2 separate regions of the Homo sapiens genome follow, and region 2 is linked to region 1. The links are contacts of gene promoters, found by promoter capture Hi-C in human tissues and cell types (Jung and others, 2019). All regions are on one chromosome and are shown on one strand. The core of a region is centred on a gene start or on the middle of the fragment in contact, and the rest is flanking DNA. Distances in the headings are between cores, read along the strand shown.

The links. Contacts are between HindIII fragments. The study calls those that stand out against the background at their distance.
Region 2: the fragment with the promoter of PCDHGB1 here is called in contact with a fragment that was not itself captured in region 1 in 2 of the 25 tissues and cell types used here (H1 embryonic stem cells and heart left ventricle).

Annotation. Positions count from the first base shown.
Region 1 is chr5:141,460,194-141,463,758 of GRCh38, forward strand. The region is part of intron 1 of PCDHGA1 (protocadherin gamma subfamily A, 1); the gene reads left to right. The region is part of intron 1 of PCDHGA2 (protocadherin gamma subfamily A, 2); the gene reads left to right. The region is part of intron 1 of PCDHGA3 (protocadherin gamma subfamily A, 3); the gene reads left to right. All of the region lies in intron 1 of PCDHGB1 (protocadherin gamma subfamily B, 1), which reads left to right. It also overlaps PCDHGA4, PCDHGB2, PCDHGA5, PCDHGB3, PCDHGA6 and PCDHGA7, and 10 more genes. Among named protein-coding and RNA genes, the nearest start is that of PCDHGC3, 14 kb to the right of the region's middle. The HindIII fragment of the contact is 8,589 bases long and covers 1-3,565 here.
Region 2 is chr5:141,348,297-141,351,861 of GRCh38, forward strand. It overlaps PCDHGB1 (protocadherin gamma subfamily B, 1), which reads left to right and starts at 1,803. Exons shown (of 4, transcript NM_018922.3): 1 at 1,803-3,565. The coding sequence starts at 1,965. The region is part of intron 1 of PCDHGA1 (protocadherin gamma subfamily A, 1); the gene reads left to right. The region is part of intron 1 of PCDHGA2 (protocadherin gamma subfamily A, 2); the gene reads left to right. The region is part of intron 1 of PCDHGA3 (protocadherin gamma subfamily A, 3); the gene reads left to right. It also overlaps PCDHG@. The HindIII fragment of the contact is 8,983 bases long and covers 1-3,565 here.

The DNA.
Region 1 (3,565 bases), core at 381-2,880:
CTTGTCTTTTCATTTTCTTAGTTGTGTCTTTTGAAGAGCAGAAGATGTAATTTTGATAAAGCCCAATTTATTTTTTCTTTTATAGTTTGTATTTCTTATGTCCTATTCAAAAACTCCTTGCCTACTGAAAACTTATGATGATTTTCTCCTATATTTTCTTTTAGAAGTTTTATAGTTTTACCATTTATAATTTGGTCTATGAATCCTTTTGAGTTGATGTTTATGTATGGTGTATGGTGTGAGGTAACAATGAAGATTCATATTTTTTTCCAAAGGAATATCCAATTGTCTCTTTGGAAAAATATGCTGAGAAGGCTATCTTTTCCCCACCAAATAATCTTAGCACCTTAATCAAAAATCATTTGGCCATGGACATATGTAGGTGTGGGTTTTTTCTGGGCTCTCTGTGTTAGATGGATAGATAGACAGATACAGATATATAACTGTGTTTACACATATGTAACTGTAAACACAGTTATATATCTATATATCCACCAACAGTTGAATGAGAATAAACTATTGTTATAAGCATATATACACATTGTATATATATGTGTACATATACATATTGCATATGTATGTATACATATATACACACAAAGTATATATATGTATGTATACATATATACACACTTAAAGTAATGGCCTCCAGTTCGATCCAAGTTGCTGCAAAGGACATTATTTCATGCCTTTTCGTGGCTGAGTAATATTCCATGGTGTATATATATATATGTGTGTGTGTATATATATGTATTATGTATATATATATGTGTGTGTGTGTGTGTGTGTGTATATATATATATGTGTATATATATATACCACATTTTCTTTATCCACTCATTAGTCGATGGGGACTTAGGTTGGTTTCACATTTTTGCAATTGTGAATTGTGCTGCTATAAACATATGTGTCCAAGTGTCTTTTTCATATAATTACTTATTTTCCTTTGGGTAGATACCCAATAGTGGGATTGCTGGATTGAATGGTAGATCTGTTTTTTGCTCTTTAGAGAATCTCCATACTGTTTTCCATAGAGGTTGTACTAATTTATATTCCCAGCAGCAATGTGTAAGTGTTCTCTTTTCCCCACATCCACACCAACATCTATTGTTTTTTGACTTTTTAATAATGGCCATTCTTGCAGGACCAAGGTGGTAGCTCGTTGTGGTTTTAATTTGCATTTTCCTGATGATTAGCGATGTTGAGCATTTTTTCATATGTTTGTGGGCCATTTGTATACCTTCTTTTGAGAAATGGCTATTTGTGTCCTTTGCCTACTTTTTAATGGGATTGTGTTTTATTTTTCTTGGTGATTTGTTAGTTCCTTGTAGATTCTGGATACTAGTCCTTTGTCAGATGTGTACTTTGCAAAGATAATATTTTGGATGTTATATTTCCATTATAATTTAGTTCAAAGTATTTTCTAATACACCTTGCAATTTCTTCTTTGACCCATGGATTATTTTAAAGTTTGTTATTTTGTTTGTTTATTTTGAGACAGAGTTTCACTTTTTTTGCCCAGGCTGGAGTGCAGTGGCACAATCCCGGCTCCCAGATTCAAGCGATTCTCCTGCCTCAGCCTCCCAAGTAGCTGGGATTACAGGTGCCCACCACCACACCCAGCTAATTTTTTTTTCTTTTTTTTTTGAGACAGAGTTTTGCTCTTGTTGCCCAGGCTGGAGTGCAATGGCACGATCTCGGCTCACTGCAACCTCTGCCTCCTGGGTTCCAGCAATTCTCCTGCCTCAACCTCCTGAGTAGCTGGGATTCCAGGCATATGCCACCACGCCAGGCTAATTTTGTATTTTTAATAGAGACGGGGTTTCTTCATGTTGGTCAGGCGGGTCTTGAACTCCCGACCTCAGGTGATCTGCCCGCCTTGGCCTCCCAAAATGCTGGGATTACAGGCATGAGCCACTGCACCCAGTCCAATTTTTTGTATTTTTAGTAGAGATGGGGTTTCATCATGTTGGCCAGGCTGGTCTTGAACTCCTGACCTCAGGTGATCCGCCTGCCTCGGCCTCCCAAAGTGCAGGGATTACAGGTATGAGCCACCATGACCAGCCTAAAGTGTATTGTTTAGTCACCAAATATGTAAGTATTACCCAAATATATTTGTCACTGATTTCTAATTTAATTGTATTGTGATCCAAAAATATACATTGTATAGTTTCTATTCTTTTAAATTCGTTAACATTTCTTTTATGGCACAGAATATGGTCTATCTTGGTGAGTGTTGCTTACACACAACTGTGTAACTGAAAACTGTGTATTCTGCTTCTCGTGGTTGTTGTATCCTATAATTGTCAACTAGATCAAGTTAGTAAGAGTGTTGTTCAGTGATCTTTTCTTCTTCAGTGTTTACTGTATTTGCTAATCCCATCCAGTGAAGTTTCCATTTCATATATTGTATTTTTCACTTTTAGAAGTTCCATTTGACTCTTTCATTTCCATCCTCAATTATCTTCATATTTTTCTTTAAATTTTTGAGCACATTTATAATGGAGGTTTTAAAGTCCTTGTCTGCTAATTTTGTCACCTCTGTAATTCCTATGATGATTTTCTTCCTGGCTTGGGGTCATAATTTGTTGCTTATTTGCATGTCTAATAATGTTTTTATTGGACAGCAGACATTGTAAATGTTATATTTTTGAGTGTTTGGATTTTGTCTTTCTTTAAGAACTATTGCAGTTTGTTTTGGAAGGCTATTATGTTTTTTGCAGATCAGGTTGATCTTTTCAAGGCTTGTTTTTAAGCTTTGTTAGGACAGGTCTGTAGTAACTTTTGCCTTGGGCTAATTTAGACCTACCACTTAATTCTGACTTTTTTGATTAATCTGAGTGTTCAGCAGGGTCTCTTTATTATGGCTAAATGAAATTCAAACATTTTCCAGCCCTATGTGACCATCAAGAATTCAGCTAATAGCTCCCTGGCAGTTCTTCGCCCAGCTGCAGAAAAGTGTCAGTGCACTCTATGTATGCTCAGATTATTATTTAGCCAAAGACTTGGGGATCCATATTAATATTCCTGGAGTTCTTTGTGTAGCTCCATTCTCTTTAGTACTCTATCCCATAAATTCTGGCTGCCTCAATCTCCTAATCTCCCCAAACTCTAATATCTATTCCTCAACTCAGCAAAACCATGGTGTTATTCTTGGATTTCCCCTTTCCTGCCCCACAGTCTGAAAGTTGTCTCCAGGCAAAAAAAATGGAGATCCTAGTTTGCGGATCCTCATTTCCTTCTCCTTTTTTTTTTTTTTTTTTTTTTTTTTTTGAGATGGAGTCTCGCTCTGTCACCCAGGCTGGAGTGACGTGGCGTGATCTCGGCTTACTAGAAACTCCGGCTCCCGGGTTCATGCCATTCTCCTGCCTCAGCCTCCCGAGTAGCTGGGACTACAGGTGCCTGCCACCATGCCCGGCTAATTTTTTGTATTTTGTTTAGTAGAGACGGGGTTTCACCGTGTTAGCCAGGATGGTCTGGATGACCTCGTGATCTGCTCACCTCGGCCTCCAAAAGTGCTGGGATTACAGGCATGAGCCACCGCGCCCGGCCTGCTTCTCTTCTC
Region 2 (3,565 bases), core at 553-3,052, 110 kb before region 1:
GAAACATGGAAATACATCACAGAATTTAAAAGGCCCATAGCCAGGGGAGGACTTCTGAGCCTAGGACTTTGAGACCTACTTGGGCAACATAGCATGACCCTGTCTCAAAAGAAAAAGGCACGTAACTTTTAACATATCATTTTTAGAAAAAAAAATGTTTATAGTATTAGTATCACTTTCCCTGTAAGGAGAAAAAAAATTAATTAGCTGTGTCAGGGGAAATTTGGATGCTCAAAGATAATTTCTAAGAATTCTATATGAAACATAGCCTACATATGTGTCATGAAAATACACTGAGAGTATGGAACCCATACAATTCCACCTACTTGTACAGGTAATGGAAGGTCTCAGACATCCCATTTTCACTAAAAAGGATTTATTTTTATTTTTTTGAAGAATGGGCAAGAATCCACTACAACAGAAAGGGAGGAGAAGTTCATAGTAAAAGGAATGGAAAGTATAAAGGCATGATGCAAGGAAACAAGTGAAAAGGTATCTTAAGAAAACAGATAATAGGCTGTTTCGAATAGAGTATGAGTATGGGTGAGCACTGCAAAATAGTAGAATAAATTGTTGAGTTGGATCTCATTTGGTAATGCATTTGAAATAAAGGGATTTGCTTTGAACCAAGACTGGTTCTAAGCCTGGAACTACAGAATAAGTTCCAAAATTGGGTGTCTAAGAACTCTGAATACCTCTCCAATATTTACCAGTGGTCAAGTCAAACTCGTTTTGCTCATTAATGGTATAAGTCGGCTGGAGCTGAGAATTGGCATTATAGAGAATGTTTTTGAGACAGAGTCTTGCTCTGTCACCCAGGATGGACTTCAGTGGCATGATCTCAACTCACTGCAACCTCTGCCTCCTGAGTTAAGTGATTCTGCTGCCTCAACCTCCCGAGTAGCTGGCGTTACAGGTACCCGCCACCATGCCTGGATAATTTTTATTTTTTTTAGTAGAGATGGCTTGCACCATGTTGGACAGGCTAGTCTCAAACTCCTGACCTCATGTGTTCTTCCCACCTTGGCCTCCCAAAGTGCTGGGATCACAGGTCACTGCACCCAGCCTAGAGTATTTAATATACATTCATATAAAAAAGAAGCACTGGTTTCATAAAACAAATGTACATTATATGAGATTCCACTTCATAAAAGCATGTATGTGTACCCCAACACTAAATTGGCCCTTTTAACAAAATATCAGACTTTGTCCTACTTAACTGGAAAGATTATCTATATTTTATAAAGAAGAGAAATAACATAATAGTAAGGCTGTGATTTCCTCTTTTTTGCAAAAACTATTTTTGAAAAGTATTACTGAATTGATAACATATATATGGAGAGATTTAAAATACTAGATAAGGGAGCTTATTCCAATGAATTTACAGAAAGGTAGGTATTTTAGTCAACTAAAAATATAAATAAAAATTATCAATTCACTTATTTGGATACAGCAGTCATGCCAGAGTTTATAAATATAGTGAAATCACTGAAGATTTTTTTTTACCCCCAAAACTGAAAAAAATGGCAGTGTACCTTGTGAATTTTTTAAATGAAAAAAGAATACGAAATGATGAAGGCCCTTATCTGATGATGACAAACTAGAAAACTGAAATGTAAAGGGGAAAATGTGAGTATGTGTTTCCCTCCAGCAAATTAAAGACAGGGTACATAGATTCAAGAGGTTGCGCTTTGAGGATAAAAAGCTGGGCCCTGTGCAGTTTTCCAAGACAACCTCTGGGCGCCGCTGTCGACCAAAAGGAAGTGAAGGCTTCTCAATTCTGCAGGAGCGTCAGGCAGGGTGCCTTCCTGCTTTGTCCGGTGCACTGAGCACAGACGCTGCTCCTGTTCACCCTCGAGCGCCTAACTAATAAGTCCTAAGCTCAAATCACAGAAGTCCAGGGTGCTGCCATTTCTTTTTGAAAAACATCCCAGAGGAAAGAAGCTCCGCGGAGAGTTCCTGAAATGCAGAGAGCCAGAGAAGCCGAAATGATGAAAAGTCAGGTACTGTTTCCCTTCCTGCTGTCTTTGTTCTGCGGGGCCATCTCCCAGCAGATCCGATACACGATTCCAGAGGAGCTAGCCAACGGCTCACGGGTGGGGAAACTTGCCAAGGATCTGGGGCTCAGTGTCCGGGAGTTGCCAACTCGAAAACTGCGGGTTAGTGCAGAGGATTATTTCAACGTTAGTTTGGAGAGCGGGGATTTGTTAGTGAACGGTAGGATAGATCGAGAGAAGATTTGCGGAAGGAAACTTGAGTGTGCACTAGAATTCGAAACGGTCGCTGAAAACCCAATGAATGTTTTCCACGTGGTTGTTGTAATCCAAGATATTAATGACAATGCACCACGTTTCGTTGCAAAAGGCATTGACTTAGAAATTTGTGAGTCAGCCTTACCCGGGGTAAAATTCTCTCTGGATTCTGCTCAAGATGCAGATGTGGAAGGCAATTCACTGAAGTTATACACCATCAACCCCAATCAATACTTCTCTCTGTCAACGAAGGAAAGTCCTGATGGAAGTAAATATCCGGTATTACTGCTGGAAAAACCTCTAGACAGGGAACATCAGAGCTCTCATCGCTTAATCCTGACTGCCATGGATGGCGGGGACCCGCCTCTAAGCGGCACCACCCATATCTGGATCCGAGTTACGGATGCCAATGATAATGCTCCCGTGTTTAGCCAGGAGGTATACAGGGTTAGCCTCCAAGAAAACGTACCGTGGGGAACCTCCGTGCTGCGGGTGATGGCCACAGACCAGGATGAGGGCATTAATGCAGAGATCACCTATGCCTTCCTCAATTCCCCAATAAGTACCAGCCTCTTCAATCTCAATCCAAATACTGGCGACATCACAACCAATGGCACATTGGATTTTGAAGAGACAAGTAGATATGTGTTGAGTGTGGAAGCTAAGGATGGAGGAGTACACACAGCTCACTGTAATGTTCAAATAGAAATTGTTGACGAGAATGACAATGCCCCAGAGGTGACATTCATGTCCTTCTCTAACCAGATTCCAGAGGATTCAGACCTTGGAACTGTAATAGCCCTCATAAAAGTGCGAGACAAGGATTCTGGGCAAAATGGCATGGTGACATGCTATACTCAGGAAGAAGTTCCTTTCAAATTAGAATCCACCTCGAAGAATTATTACAAGCTGGTGATTGCTGGAGCCCTAAACCGGGAGCAGACAGCAGACTACAACGTCACAATCATAGCCACCGACAAGGGCAAACCAGCCCTTTCCTCCAGGACAAGCATCACCCTGCACATCTCCGACATCAACGACAATGCACCTGTTTTCCATCAGGCCTCCTATGTGGTCCACGTGTCTGAGAACAACCCACCTGGCGCCTCCATTGCACAAGTAAGCGCCTCCGACCCGGATTTGGGACCCAACGGCAGAGTCTCCTACTCTATTCTGGCCAGTGACCTGGAGCCGCGGGAGCTGTTGTCCTACGTGTCCGTGAGCCCGCAGAGCGGGGTGGTGTTCGCGCAGCGCGCCTTCGACCACGAGCAGCTGCGCGCCTTCGAGCTCACACTGCAGGCCAGGGACCAGGG